Regions from separate parts of the Homo sapiens genome. Here regions 1, 3, 4 and 5 are each linked to region 2. Evidence: promoter capture Hi-C in human tissues and cell types (Jung and others, 2019). All regions are on one chromosome and are shown on one strand. The core of a region is centred on a gene start or on the middle of the fragment in contact, and the rest is flanking DNA. Distances in the headings are between cores, read along the strand shown. Region 1 overlaps RALGAPA2 (Ral GTPase activating protein catalytic subunit alpha 2). Region 2 holds the start of INSM1 (INSM transcriptional repressor 1). Region 3 overlaps RALGAPA2 (Ral GTPase activating protein catalytic subunit alpha 2). Region 4 overlaps RALGAPA2 (Ral GTPase activating protein catalytic subunit alpha 2). Region 5 overlaps CFAP61 (cilia and flagella associated protein 61).

The links. Contacts are between HindIII fragments. The study calls those that stand out against the background at their distance.
Region 1: a contact is called between a fragment that was not itself captured here and the fragment with the promoter of INSM1 in region 2, in 2 of the 25 tissues and cell types used here (IMR-90 fibroblasts and mesenchymal stem cells).
Region 3: a contact is called between a fragment that was not itself captured here and the fragment with the promoter of INSM1 in region 2, in 1 of the 25 tissues and cell types used here (hippocampus).
Region 4: a fragment that was not itself captured here is called in contact with the fragment with the promoter of INSM1 in region 2 in 3 of the 25 tissues and cell types used here (dorsolateral prefrontal cortex, hippocampus and lymphoblastoid cells).
Region 5: a contact is called between a fragment that was not itself captured here and the fragment with the promoter of INSM1 in region 2, in 2 of the 25 tissues and cell types used here (mesendoderm cells and thymus).

The regions. Positions count from the first base shown.
Region 1 is chr20:20,610,362-20,613,061 of GRCh38, reverse strand. It overlaps RALGAPA2 (Ral GTPase activating protein catalytic subunit alpha 2), which reads left to right. Exons shown (of 40, transcript NM_020343.4): 14 at 1,636-1,747. Among named protein-coding and RNA genes, the nearest start is that of RALGAPA2, 100 kb to the left of the region's middle. The HindIII fragment of the contact is 6,280 bases long and covers 1-2,700 here.
Region 2 is chr20:20,366,773-20,369,532 of GRCh38, reverse strand. It overlaps INSM1 (INSM transcriptional repressor 1), which reads right to left and starts at 1,429. Exons shown (of 1, transcript NM_002196.3): 1 at 1-1,429. The coding sequence starts at 1,265. RefSeq lists an enhancer at 1,566-2,336. The HindIII fragment of the contact is 4,823 bases long and covers 1-2,760 here.
Region 3 is chr20:20,498,089-20,500,788 of GRCh38, reverse strand. The region is part of intron 35 of RALGAPA2 (Ral GTPase activating protein catalytic subunit alpha 2); the gene reads left to right. Among named protein-coding and RNA genes, the nearest start is that of INSM1, 130 kb to the right of the region's middle. The HindIII fragment of the contact is 3,606 bases long and covers 1-2,700 here.
Region 4 is chr20:20,518,598-20,521,297 of GRCh38, reverse strand. It overlaps RALGAPA2 (Ral GTPase activating protein catalytic subunit alpha 2), which reads left to right. Exons shown (of 40, transcript NM_020343.4): 31 at 198-381. Among named protein-coding and RNA genes, the nearest start is that of INSM1, 150 kb to the right of the region's middle. The HindIII fragment of the contact is 6,197 bases long and covers 1-2,700 here.
Region 5 is chr20:20,202,558-20,205,270 of GRCh38, reverse strand. The region is part of intron 17 of CFAP61 (cilia and flagella associated protein 61); the gene reads right to left. Among named protein-coding and RNA genes, the nearest start is that of CFAP61-AS1, 64 kb to the left of the region's middle. The HindIII fragment of the contact is 6,572 bases long and covers 1-2,713 here.

The DNA of each region.
Region 1 (2,700 bases), core at 181-2,680, 240 kb before region 2:
TTTCATAGGTTCAGAAATCAAATTAACTGTTTTTGTCAGTCATGGCTTTGATCACATTTGTGGCTTTTGATAGCAGTTGCCATGATCAAGGCTTTACTTGAAACTTACGATGTCTGTTGTTCTCATCACATTCTCATGATGGATCTGTAACTAGTTGTGTGTAAGGGATTGTTTTTCATTGTCTTATGCATCATGTAACATGAATGGGCAGTGGTGATACTAGGTGCTGCCCTTCTCTGCCCTGGCGACAGGGGCCTGGGTACCCTGAATGTGATGAGCGACAAGCTGTCCCCCAGCACTGTGCCATTGCTTCTCCCAGTTCTCTTCAAAGTCACCATCCTGCTTCAGCGTGTGTGCCCAGAAGATAGCCCTTCCTCTTCTGTGCTTCCAGAATCCGTAGGCAGGGAATAGGAATACATGGACAAGTAGCATGCAGTGCAGTGAGAATGTATAACAACAGATGACTCTGGGGACCAAAATCAAATGGGGCCAGCTACAAAGAGGGCAGGAAATCCCCACAGGTGATTTTACTGTGAGGAATTTTATGAGGTTCAGCATCATATATTGTTAGGAGAAAATGCTGTTTTGATAAGCAGAGATATGAGAAAAGTAAACGGGAACTATGATTTAGAGATCTCATCTGATTACTTTGTCCTATTCTCAGTTTTATTACTAAAGAGCAGTAAAGCCAAGGAGAAAGTAGTAAAGATTAGATGAATGGTTAGCATGTGAAACCTGAAAGGAACCAGAGTGATTTCCCTCGAGGAACAAATGCACTTCTCTTACATATGAAAGATGATGTGTTCTGTGTTCCCATAGAATCTAGGGAAAGAAAAAGTGAGCAGATACTCTGATATGAGCAATATAACTTAGGTGTAAGAAAGAAAAATGTCTTTTGGCTGTTCTGAAGAACTTATTATTGTAATTAGCAGTGTTATGTTGTCTCTGTACTATTTTATAGTCTTCAAAGTCCTTTTACATAAACCTTCTGTAAGAGACTATGAAAAATGCTGGCACATTGGAACTGAGCTGCAGTGATGGCATTTGTCTCAGTTGTGCCCTGTAGTGCAGAGTCAGGATCTTCCAGACATGAGCACTGTGCCTGTAAGTGTCCTGTAATGCAAACCCCTCCTGCCTGTGAGAGTACTGTGGCATTCCACCTTACCAAGATACTGACTGTGTGTGTCCCCAAAATAAAGGCCAGAAAGTCAGCTTCACCTCCTGTTGCAATGAGAGGGAGACCTTACAGGTTAAGTAAAACAGTGGATAGCAAAATTAAAGAGTGCTGCATATGTTCCAGTAGGTTTTCACTGAGTACCTTTAAGCTGCTGGCACAGTTGGAGAAGACGATCTTGCCTCTCTTTTTGCAAGGGGAGAAAATCAGGCTGGAATGATGTTTTATCCTGCCTGTTTGTGTGGACATGGGAGGCATGTTTTTAAAACTGTTATAACATAAGGGAGCTTATTTTGGTAAAATATGGTATTCATTATGTAATTGGCATCTGGACTTTAATAGTTTCGAGTAATACATAATTATCAATGTTGCTGAATTCTTAAGAGAATTTCTGGTACCTATAAATTAAAGTGCTTTGGAGACATGATTATTAATATGAGCTTTTATTTTGGGTGGCCCAGGGAACAGATGTTGCAAATACTACTCAGGATAACAGAAGCTGTCATGCAGAAGCCAAAGGATAAACAAATAAAGGACTTGTTTGCCCAGAGCTTGGCAGGGTTACTATTTAGGGTAAGTCTTTTTTATGAAAGCACTGCAAATGCAAGAAATGAATCAGATTTTGTAGCAAACTAGTTTTAATCATTGAGAATTTTAAAAATAATATTAAATTTAAATTTCTAGAAATTTTTCTTCTTAGCTTTGTCCTGAAGGTTATGATCTGTTCTTTACAATTAGTGCTGGGCTTTTAGGCTTTTCTCCCTCTCTGCTACCTACTTCCTCTTTTAATTTGCTCAAGGGTGGTAGGAATTAGGAAGCTCTGATGGCCTTGGTGGAAGGCTAGGTAGATTTGGAGAGGTAAAGGATGAACGAAAGTATGGGAATGGGATAAAACTTTGAGAGCCATCAGTGTGTTGGGCAATTGTATTTAAAGCCACAGGATGGGCTTACCTAGAGAGGACAATGTCCACAGGTGATGGGAGAGATGCTGAGAAAGGGTGGCCAGTGAGTGAGGAGGAAAACCAGAGGAGTGTGTATCCTGGGTGCCTGGGGATGAGTATTGGGTAGGAGGAGAGCAGCCAGTTGACCATGGGCTTTGACAGATGTAGTTGGTTGAGAATGTTCTATGGGATGAGTCCCACCTGGAGTAGATGGAGGAGAAAATGAGAGCTGGGCAGTGGAAGTTGCAAGTGTAGTTAAGGCTTTGCAGAGTTCTTGCTGTGGAAAGGAAGAGGAAAAGGGGAGCTAGCTGAAGTCGGTGGCATACATGGTGGGCGAGGTTTAAGGTGGGTGGTACTAAAGTATGTTTGCTCACCAATGGGATGGTCCAGTGAGGGAGGACAAGATGGTCTTGGGGAGACAGAGGATAAGTGAGGTCCCGGATATGGTGGAGGGCTGGGCCGGTCTTTGGTGCGAGCAGAGAGCCAAAGAGATGCCTGTGCTTCTTGCATCTCATGTGGTGAGCAGGTGAAGACCAAGAGCAGGCTGATACCTGGTGAGCTGCCTGGGGAACAGATGTGCCAGAG
Region 2 (2,760 bases), core at 180-2,679:
GCCTCCTGGGGCGCCTTCTCGTCGGGCCCGGGGTACAAGGCCAGTAGGTCCTCGGCCGGGGGCGCTAGCGGCGCGCCCTTGGCCTGCAGCGCCTGGTGGTGCGCCAGCAGGTGCTTGCGTAGGTAGGCCTGGCGGCGGAACTTCTTGGCGCAGTGATGGCACTCGTAGAGCCCGTCCTCGGAGCCCGACTCGGACACGCCGCCGGGGCTCGGCGTGTCCCGGTCGCTGCCGCCGCCGGGTGCCTCCCGCGCCTCAGCCCTGGCTGCTGCTTCTGGCTCCGGCGCGCGGGCGGCGGCGGGCGCGGGCCGCGGTTTGTGCCAGCGGCGGTGCGAGGCCAGGTTGGCCGGGCAGCTGAAGACCTTGGCGCACTCGGGACAGCGGTACTCCACACGCACGATGCGCGAGCATTTGTGCTGCGCCAGCGCGAACGGGTCGGCGTACTCCTCCTTGCACAGCTGGCAGATGAACTCGCCCAGCGGCCGCGCCGCGCCCCCCGCGCGGCCCCGCGGCGCCTCCACCGGGCCCTCCTTGATCTTGAGCCCCAGCACGGGCGACGTGGTCACCTCGTCCTCGAAGTGCAGCTTGCGGATGGCCTTGGGCTTCTTGGCGCCCGGGGCCTTGACTGCCTTGGCGGGCGGCTCCGCGGCGGTAGGGGGCGGGGGCCGCTTTCCCGGGGGCCGCAGGGCGGCGGCAGGGGGCAGTGGGGGGCCGGGGCCCGGGCCGCGGGCCGCCTCGGCGCCAGCCGAGAACGCCGTGCCCATCTTGAGCTCGGCGGGCGCGAAGAGCAGCGGGTCGCCGCCGCAGGTGCCGCCTCCGCCAGCTCCGCTCGCGCCGCCGCCGCCGCCCCCTCCGAGCAGCGCGGCGGGCGTGGGGAAGGACTCGGCCGAGACCGGCGAGCCCAGGTTGAAGCTGCGTTCGAAGTACTTGTGCTTCTCGTGCTCGCGGCTCACGGGCCGCGTGGGACTGTAGAGCGGCGCGGGGTGCGCAGCCTCGGGGTTGCCGAAGTGCGCGGCCCGCGGGCCCTGCGGGGGTGGCTGCGGCCCAGGCGCGCAGGCAAGCGCGGCGGCGAGCGCTGCATGGGCGCGCTCCGCGGGCGGCGGCGGCGGCAGCGGCCCGGGGACCGGGCTCGGCGCCGGGGGCTCGGCGCGGGCGCCCCCGCAGCTGGGCGAGAGCAGCAGTGCGCGGTCGCCGTCCTCGCCGCCGCGGACCCGGTAGGAAACGGGCGTGGACTTCTTGCTGCGCTTCACCAGGAAGCCGCGGGGCATGTTGGCGCGGCCCGAGGGCACGGCACTGGCTCGGTCCCCCCTCCGCGCTCGGCCCCGGCGGCCCTCAGTGCCCCCGGCCCATTGCCCGGGCGCGGCGGCTGCGGGACTCGCGTGGCGCCGGCGACGGCTCGGCCCAGCTCTGCGCCCTGCACGCGCGTCCCTGTCCCCGGGCCCGGCAGCCGCTCCCTTTTAACGGGGGGAGGGGGCCATTGTTCTCGCCTCCCGCTTCCCCTGGAGCCAATCAGCGCGTCCGCAGCTCCTCAGCCTGGCAGGGTGGGAGGGCGATGGGGCGGCCAAAAGGGGGCCGGGACTCGGGGGTCGCCCGGTAGGTGCGGCAGATGTACCTGAGGGCGCGGGGCCCCCGCGCGCGCCCCTGGTCGCCCCGCCCGGCGCCGCCGCCCCGCCCGGTCCAGGCACACGCCCGGCCCCGCCTCCCTTCACGGTCTGCTGCTTCTCTATGGGGAGGCGCACGTGCCTGGGCTTTGTGTCTCTCCTCCGGGGGGCGCGGAGCCGCCAAATGGGCCCGTCCATCAGCGCGACAATGCACGCCCCCCTCCCGCGCGGGGATTACCCGCGGGTCGCTAGCAAAATAGCAACAAAGGAGAAGAATGGCCCCAAATATGTCAGGAGGGTTCAATCCGCGAGCCGGAGCCGAGGGGGAAGTTGTGCGCGCTGATTGGGTGGGGGCGGGGGCGCGCCGGGGCGGTGCGGGGGAGATCGTTGCGGAGGCGCAGTGGCTCCGCGTGGTGTTTGGGAAATAAACAAGAATCCGAGAGAGCAGCAGGGTCCGGACGGCCTCCGCCCGGACCTTGGACGGATGGGCCGCTGGACCCAAGAGGCCAAGCAAAAGGGTTCCCCGGGGTTCCAAGTGTGGACAGGGGGCCCGGCCTTCTGGCAGTGGCCGAGGGCGATGTTTGTGCTCGCAGCCTCCGCGCGCCCACGGGGCTAGAGAAGGTTTCTTTCGAGTTTGAGAAGGAATTGGCACGGCCTTCTCAGTCTCCCGAAAGCGCGGGATTGGAGCGCGGGCGGGCTGGGCTGGGTTCCCAGAGGAACGTGAATTTCTGAACTTTTGGGTTCTTGGAGGCTTGGGAATGGCATCTTTGGCGGGGCCCGACCCAGGCCGCCCGGAGCTTCCGCGTGGTCCAAGGCTCGGTTAATCCGGGTCGAGTTGGCCGAAGCCCGAAACGCGCGGTCGGCCTCGTGCGCCCCAGTGAAGTTGGCTTTCTCCTCCCCGCGCGGCCTCATGCATTTTCATTCCGAGCGGGCATTTTGTTTGCCGGTTGACATCAGATGCTAAATCAAGGGCTCCAATCAAGGCGCTGCGAAATAAAGGGGCTGCCTGTCTGGGCGCAGCCCCCACGGAGCCGTGCCCCCTTCACCTTTGTGAAGGAAATTAACCTCCTGCTATTGAGCTCCGGTCGCGGCCAATCTGGACGCAAAAGAGACGCGTGCTGGACGGGGGGAGGGGGGGCAATCTGTACTCTGAGGCAGGCTG
Region 3 (2,700 bases), core at 20-2,519, 130 kb before region 2:
TGGCTGTCATAGGGAGTGAGTTCTCTGATGGATCTGGCAAAGACCATTGAAAACCTTCTGGAATGGATTCACCATTCTAGATGCCATTAGGAACATTCGTGATTCATGGGAACAGATCAAGATATCAAGATTCACAGGAGTTTGGATAGAGTCCCACCCTCATGGATGACTTTAAAAGATTCAAGACTTCAGTGAAGGAAGTCACTGCACATTTAGCAGAAATAGCAAGAGAACTAGAATTAGAAGTGGAGACTGAAGATGTAGCTGAATTACTGCAATGTCATGATAAAATTTGACTGGATGAAAAGTTGCTTCTTATGGATAAGCAAAGAAAGTGGGTTTCTTGAGAAGGAATCTGTTCTCAGTGATGATGCTATGAACATTGTTGAAATTACAACAAAAGATTTAGAATATTCCATAAATTTAATTGGTAAAGCAGTGACAGGGTTTGAAAATATTACTCCAATTTCAAAAGAAGTTCTACTGTGGGCAAAATGCTGTCAGACACCATCACATGCTACAGAGAAATCTTTCATGAAAGGAAGAGTCAATCAATGTGGCAATTTCATTATCTTACCTTAAGAAATTGCCACAGCCACCCCAGCCTTCAGCAACTGCCACCCTGATCAATCAGCAACCAACAACATCAAGGCAAAACCCTGTACCAGCAAAAAAAGACTACAACTCACTGAAGGCTCAGATAATCATTAGCATTTTTTAGCAATAAAATTTTTTTATTAATATACATATGGTAAGAAATAATGCTATTGCACATTTAATAGACTATAGTAAACATAAGTTTTATGCACACTGCTTTCCCAGTGCACACAAAAGTTTATATGATTTGCTTTATTGCAATATCTGTATTTGCAATATCTAAAAAACCTATTGCGGATATGTCTGAAACCAAGCCTATAATATCTCTGAGGTGTGCCTGTATATGATGGGCAGCAGTGCATGTGAAACATCAGAACTCAAGTCATGGCCCAATTACAGACAACTTCCGTAGTGATCAAGTGTCTCAGATGTAGAAAGTACAATTTGCGTTCAAAAACTCAGCAGCCTTTCCCTCTCCTGCCCCAGCATGCTATAATGACCTCCTGGGGGTGGCAGTACTACAGCCAGAAGCGCTGACCACGTGCTGGTTCCCACACGTCTTGGAGGAGCTGCCTCAGTGTTGGGTTTTGATGGCTGCCCCTGGCTGTAGAGCTCTCAGCAAAGGGAACTCTGCCCTCCAAGAATTCACCAGGATCTCAGACTCTAGTGTAGCTTACCAGGATCCTAAGCTGGGCTCACACATCTTTTTTATTTGCAGTACATTGTAAATTGTTTCTGCTTTGCAAATGTGTCACCATATTCTATAATTTTCTTATGACTGAGAATTATTTTGTTAAAAGATAAAATTTATATATAAAATATTTTTTAAATTATTTCTTAAGTAAAGTAGGACTGTTTTTTCTTTTTTGAGAAAAGACATGTTTTCTTGATAAAATGCCAAGCTGTAAATAATGTTCTAAGACTTGGCCTGGTTGAATGATTCCCTACTGTAATAATCAAAATTCAGCTGATACCTTTTGCAGCTGTAAGGTTTAGCATCATTAGTGATAAACTCTCTTTATCAGATGTCTCACAGCTAGACTAAAAATCAGTCACAGTAACAGCAGCCCACAGTTCCTTGTCTTATTCTAACTAAATTGTCCCTAACAGCTTAAAAATGAGCTGCAAAATTCTAAAGTGATTCATGCTCTCTTCTGCCCCCATCATGGGGGGACTTTTTCAATTCTGCAATCCAGTTGCAACCCCATACTGAACTCTTGATCCTTCACTGCAGAAATTTGTTAGCTCTAGCTAGATTAGATTTTTCACAGCTAATCTAACTGCTGTAGGGGTTTGCAGAGTGGGGACAGAGCTGTGCTATTGGATTTGTCCAATTCATTTGACTCCAGGACTATAATTGCACTTATGTCTTACAAGGCTTTTATAGCCTCAGGCTGGCCAGCCACATAAAAAACAAATTGGCAGTGATACAGTACGAGTGAAAAGGGATGAAAGGCCCACATTATCAGTCTCCAGGCAGCGCTGTTCTGGCAGGAAGTTTCTTGGTTAATTTACAAATAAAACTTAGATTTTAGGATGGGCACACTGTCAGCTGAACAATGGGGATGTCAGGCCTGACTGTTACTTAGTAAAAGTAGCAGCCGGGCCCACTGAGGAGCAGGAATTCTTCAATCAAACAGACGACTCCTTCTGGAGCCAGCTGGCGATGTAATGCAATTAGTCGAGAAAGGAGGTCAGCCTATTAGGTGTGTACCATGACCGGTGTCACCAGTGGCGTGCAGCCTGGCAGCAGCAACAGACAGAATGGCTTAGGCAAAGGGACTTTAAAACTCTGTTAGGATGAAAAGTTGTGGGTCCGGGATTGATTTCTTAAGACTTAAAATCTGAGCATTTGTTCTGAGCCTGATAAGTATCCAGCCATTGTGGAGCCTGTTGTGCAGTTGAAGGAGTAGCTAACATAAACACCGGCTCCATTCCAGAAGGAGACTCATCATTCTTCCCCAGTTACACAGGAACCAGATCAACTTGACTTGTGTGCACTCACCGAACTCACTGATGGGTTTCTAATTTGAGGGCCTCTAATCCCAGTTCTTCAATACTCACAAAATGATGTGTCAATGATGGACTCTTCTTTAAATTGGG
Region 4 (2,700 bases), core at 189-2,688, 150 kb before region 2:
GAACATATTTCTTGGCATTGATATGAAAGGAGCAAAATAAATTTGCTAATAGCAAGAAGATATTTAAGAGTGGTCATTCCATTTCCAGCTAGGACCAAGCAGGAGTCCTAGCTGCCAAGTGCTGCAGTAGTTTGACAGATTGTCAGGGGACACGCGGTGAGTAGCATCCGTGGTGCACATGGCCTCTGTTTTCACAGGTTTTGCACTGCTGTGTGTGTGGCTCAAGCACGTACACCCAACAGAGTCACTACATACTGACCCTGGCTGACTTGTCATCCACGGATTATGACCCCTTCCTGCCACTGGCAAATGTGAAGAGCTCTGAGCCAGTCCAGTATCATTCATCAGCAGAATTGGGTAACCTGCTGACTGTTGAAGAGGGTGAGTATTCTTTCAGGTATGAAATCTTGTGGGAAGGAAAAGGAAGGATTTAGCCTTTAGCCATGCTTGCTCTATTTTTTTTTAATCTAGTTGTTGAAGTTGAAATCCTAGTTCCTGGAGTCCTCTGTGATGGCAAATTCTGCCTTCCTTGTTTCTTCTTTTTTTCTCCTCTGTTTTCCCATTTTAGTAGTTCAAATGGTTTTTGTATTATTGAAGACAGGTATGTCTCAAATCCATGGAACTCACAAAAAAGGCTCATTTTCTATCCTCAAGGAGCTTTACATCTAATGGAAAACACACAGTGAAGTCCAGAAGGACTCACTGTGGACTGGTAGCACCATGAGGGCTTTCCATGAAGAAGGACTTAAGCCAGACTTAGCAGGGTGGGCAGGTGTTGAAAGGAGCTCATAGATTGTTCCAAGTTAGGAGAGCATCATAAAAAGAGATGGAAATTTACTTGCTACAGTTTTAGATTTGCTCTGCTCATAGCAGAGAGTCCATTTCAGAGCATATAGGGATTGTCAGGACTTAGAGCCTGCTGTATTTCTTACTTAAGCACCCCTCTCCCCAGAATGATAAGAGCCCAGCTTTGGGCCTTGGAATGGGAGTAGAATGTGGGTATACTGTCTATACATATGATAAAATTGCATAGAACCAAACACACACACACACACAAATGCATGCATGTAAAACTGGTGAACACTGAGTAATATAGATGGATTATTATCAATGTCAACTTCCTGACTGTGATATTGTCCTATAGGTATGCAAGATGTTACCCTGAGATGAAAGGTATTTGAGGTCTCTCTGTATTACTGCTTACAACTGCATGTGAATCTTCAGTTGTCTCAACACTAAAAATTAGAAGAAGGCCAAGCATCATGGCTCCCACCTGTAATCCCGTCACTTTGGGAGGCCAAGGCGAGCAGATCACTTGAGCACAGGACCACTTGAGTCTGTGAGGTCAAGGCTGCTGTGATCAGCGCCACTGCACTCTAGCTTGAGCGACAGAGTGAGACTCTATCTTAAAAAAAAAAAAATTAAAGAGATGTAGGTGTGAAGTGTTAGATCATCCATGAAAATTGTATGGACTTCACAAGTTAAAAACCTAGGCCCAAGACTAGAACCTTGTGGGCAGAAACATCCTTAAGGACAGCAGAGTGAGGGAATGTCACCAGGAAAGCAAAGTCAGGGAAGTGGAAAGAGGACCAAGAAAGAGTCATTTCTAGCAAGTCAAGGAAGAAAGCAAATAAGAAGTTGAGAAAGGTCAGCAGTGCTAGTTGCTTCAGAAAGCTTAGGGAAGGTGAGAATGAAACAGGAGCTGTTATATTTCCCAACTAGGTGTTTGGTGGTAGGTTTTGCCAGAGCACTTTCACCAGAGTGGTGGGTCCAGCCAGATAACATGAGCAGGTGACCTGTGCAGTGACAGTCAGATCCCTGAGTCAGACTCCTTTTGTGAGGCCCTTAGTGGAAGGAGGAAGGACACAGCAGGCAGTGGCTGGGTGAGGGAGGACAAAGGTCCAGGGGTATGCTTGCAGCACTACAGAGTCTGGAGCAAGGTTCAAGCTGACATGAAGGGGAAGGTGAGATGAGGATGAAAAAGACAGGACTGGGGGTGACAGTCATGAGCAAGGGCTTAAAATCTAGCAGTCCTGATTTTAGCTGCATTTTGTAGATGAGCAAACTGAGGTTAAGGGATATTCCCAGGGGTGTGTACAAGTCAGAAGTAAGGGAGGTGGAATTTGAACCTAAGATTTAATGACCAAGTTCCTAAAATGCATTATTTACTCTGAAAGTTTTGACGTGGAGTAGACTTAACACTCTTGTTTTGAGTTGTGTTGGTGGTGGATGGTACATGGTTCATTTTCATGTTGTTTTCTTGATTTGTTCTCCATTTATTTAATCATTTAATTGTTTATTTCTGGAGCTCCACTGTCAACTGCAATGTCTGCTTTACTTTTTCCCCCACAATGATAAATTATTTTTATTAAGTAATTGAAACAACTCTTAATCTATTTCGTTGTTCCCTACTGTAAGTTCATATGTCTTATAATAAAATTAACTTGTTTTTTCCTAAAGTCATCAATTTATACTCATCCACATGAGTATATCCCCAAAACATGGCTATCCCTAAAATAGGTTCACCATTTATTATGAGTTGTCACTTAAAAATAGCAGAAGATAAATAGGTTATTGAAAAAGGAAAAACCTAAAAATATACATTTAAATTCTGGCACCATTTTTCTTTCAGTGTACAATACTCTTTGGGAAACATTCCCAAGATAGTTCTAAAGTACTAAAAATAATTGCTTAAACTTC
Region 5 (2,713 bases), core at 201-2,700, 160 kb after region 2:
AGATGAGAAACTCCATGGGAATTCTTTAAGCAAGAGCTCAGGAAGTAACAGTAATGCAACAGTAGTTGTTTTTATTACCTTGTAACCTTTCTAAGAGCGAAAAATTAGGACAGTAATGAGAATAAACACTGGTTTATAAGTCCTTCTGGTGAATATTTATATACTATTCATATAATAGACACTTATATAATATATAACATATTATATTAAACTAGACAATGTTCAGAGAATTGGAAAGAAATGGCCACAGAACTTGTATTGTAGAAAGAAGAAAGCCCATAAAGGAACTTATGTAAATGATCCCAAGAATCTGAGAGAAAAGAGTTCACTATAAGTAGAAGGAAATGCACTTCTCATAGATAGTGTAAACACATAGGAACTGGCTGGGAAGTGGCTTGAAGCAGCAAACTGGACTCATGGCGATGATTTAAAGTGGGTTAATTTCATTTCAAGAAAATATGCCTCCCATCGTCACATTAATAATGATTAGAGCATATATGATGCTGAAAAAATACAGGTCTGCCTTTTTAGAAACCTCTACCAAGGTGATGGCCAAAGAGCTAAAAACACACCACATACCCCGACCACAAATATAACCAAGGGAAGTCTAACCACTGGCGGTGAAAGTTACCAAGTTTAAGGAAGGGGCTGGGAAACAATAAAGCTGGGGAAAATCTAGCAGGTGCTGGGAGAATAATGCAATTTCCTAGGGCAGCAGATGCACAAGTGAAACAGTATCCAGTAACAGTCCATCAGATGGTAATTATAGCTGGACTGGGAAGAACAGCCAGATGAAAAGGGGCAATTCAAAGGGTAACTGAATGCCAGTGAGTGACATCTTCCTGAGAGATCACATACCAGGAAAAAGCAGGGCCATCACTTAGCTCTGAGGGGGAGGGGCTCCATAAGCCGTCATTTTTCTTTGTAGAAGGACAAAGAAAAAATGTGGAGAAATGAATGCACAGAATCCAAATGGAGGCCTCCAAAGAATTCATTAGTTGAGATTTAATCAGACCATCATTAATAAGCAACCAGAAAAAAACAAGATCACTCTGAAAGTATGATTGCTCAGGAAGGATGAAGGGTTGATTTAGTTCTGAAAATAACTGAGAGAGAGGTGAGTTCACGCTACAATTCTATGAACACAATAAACCAAGATGAAGAGCTGAAGTGACTGAAGTGGATGATGGGGAGCAACTATTGACATTGAGGCAATGGGAGGGGCTCTTTAAGTTCAAAGCAGGTTTTCTGGAGTGTAATATGACAAATAACAGTTGTGTAAACTCCCATTCCTGGAAAGGAAGCAGTGCCTTTTTCTCAAACACATTCCCTCTCCAGGAATTCTGCAGAAACAGGTCTGAGCCCAGTGTGGCTATTTCTCCTGAGTTTGGGCTCGTGTCACCTAGGAGGCCAGTACAAGCCCTCATCTACCCCCATTTAATACTGAAACTAGACTGGAAGCTCCATGCAGGCATGGATGGTGACACAGTCATATCTGAATCCCTATAAAAGGCAGAAAGGAAAGAAAACAGGTTTGTATGTAGACCCACCCTCAAAATAAGTGTAAGGCAGCTTGTTCGGCTGTCTTTAATCAATATAACCACTAAATTAATTCAGCCCAATTTTGAGTGTTTTCCTGATCATAATACTCATTCAGGATAAATACTTGAGGGGATGGATGGATACCCCATTTTACATGATGTGATTATTACTCATTGCATGCCTGTATCAAAATATCTCATGTACCCTATAAACATCGATACCTACTGTGTACCAACAAAAACTAAAAATTAAAGAAATAAAATAATTTTGTAAAAAATAATAATTCTTATGCAGGCAGGCCCTGACGAGTCATCTAATAAAAACTTCCATGAGAGTAACTCTCCTAATGTAAAAGCACAGGCCAAGATGGCTCATTCAAGCTCAGAAAAGAATCTTTCAGGTCTATGATGTCAATTACGGTCTTGGTCAGGAAAAAGCCCTCTCTCTTACCCATGCATTCACACTGGTTGACTGTGGAGACATTACTATGAATCTTTGAGGCCTGATTCTGAAATGTGTGATGAAAATCATTTATGTTTTCTAGGCTCTTTTTTATGACCTGCTGCGGGGTAGGCTGTCAATTAATAGAAACGACGGGGAAGGTGTTGTGGCCGGGACACTGATCGTCCAAACCAGGCAGGAATTAGGAAGGCCTTGGGGTGGGAGCGAGGGCATATTTCCCTGCCATGCAGTGATGAATTTCAATCACTGCTTCCTTGTGCCAGATTCAAATTGGCAACCTACCGAGATGAAATGCTTTCTATCCCATTACTCATGCCTGGAGTGATCTGTTCCCTTGAAGATTGGCTTCCTAGGTGAAAGGTAGGGACTGGATGGTCACTCTAAGATGCTTTAAATAGGATAAAAGGTATGAAAGACGAGTGGCCAGCAAGAGAAATGATATGGACATGGTGAGGGAGCTGAGGGTCTCATATAAAGCTTGATGCACTGGGAGGGGTTGTGGCGGGGGGGCGGTGGGAGATGTGAAACCTAAAGGGAAAATTCATTCATTTGGTAATGACAGTTGCTCAGCCTTGCACAGTTTGCTACTGCAATGCTATTGCTCTACTAAGAAAACAATGTCTTGAGGGCTATACTGAGATTCCTCCTAAAAATATTCTACTTGGCTCAACTTGTGTCAGATAATCACTCTAAAACATTAAAACTGTCT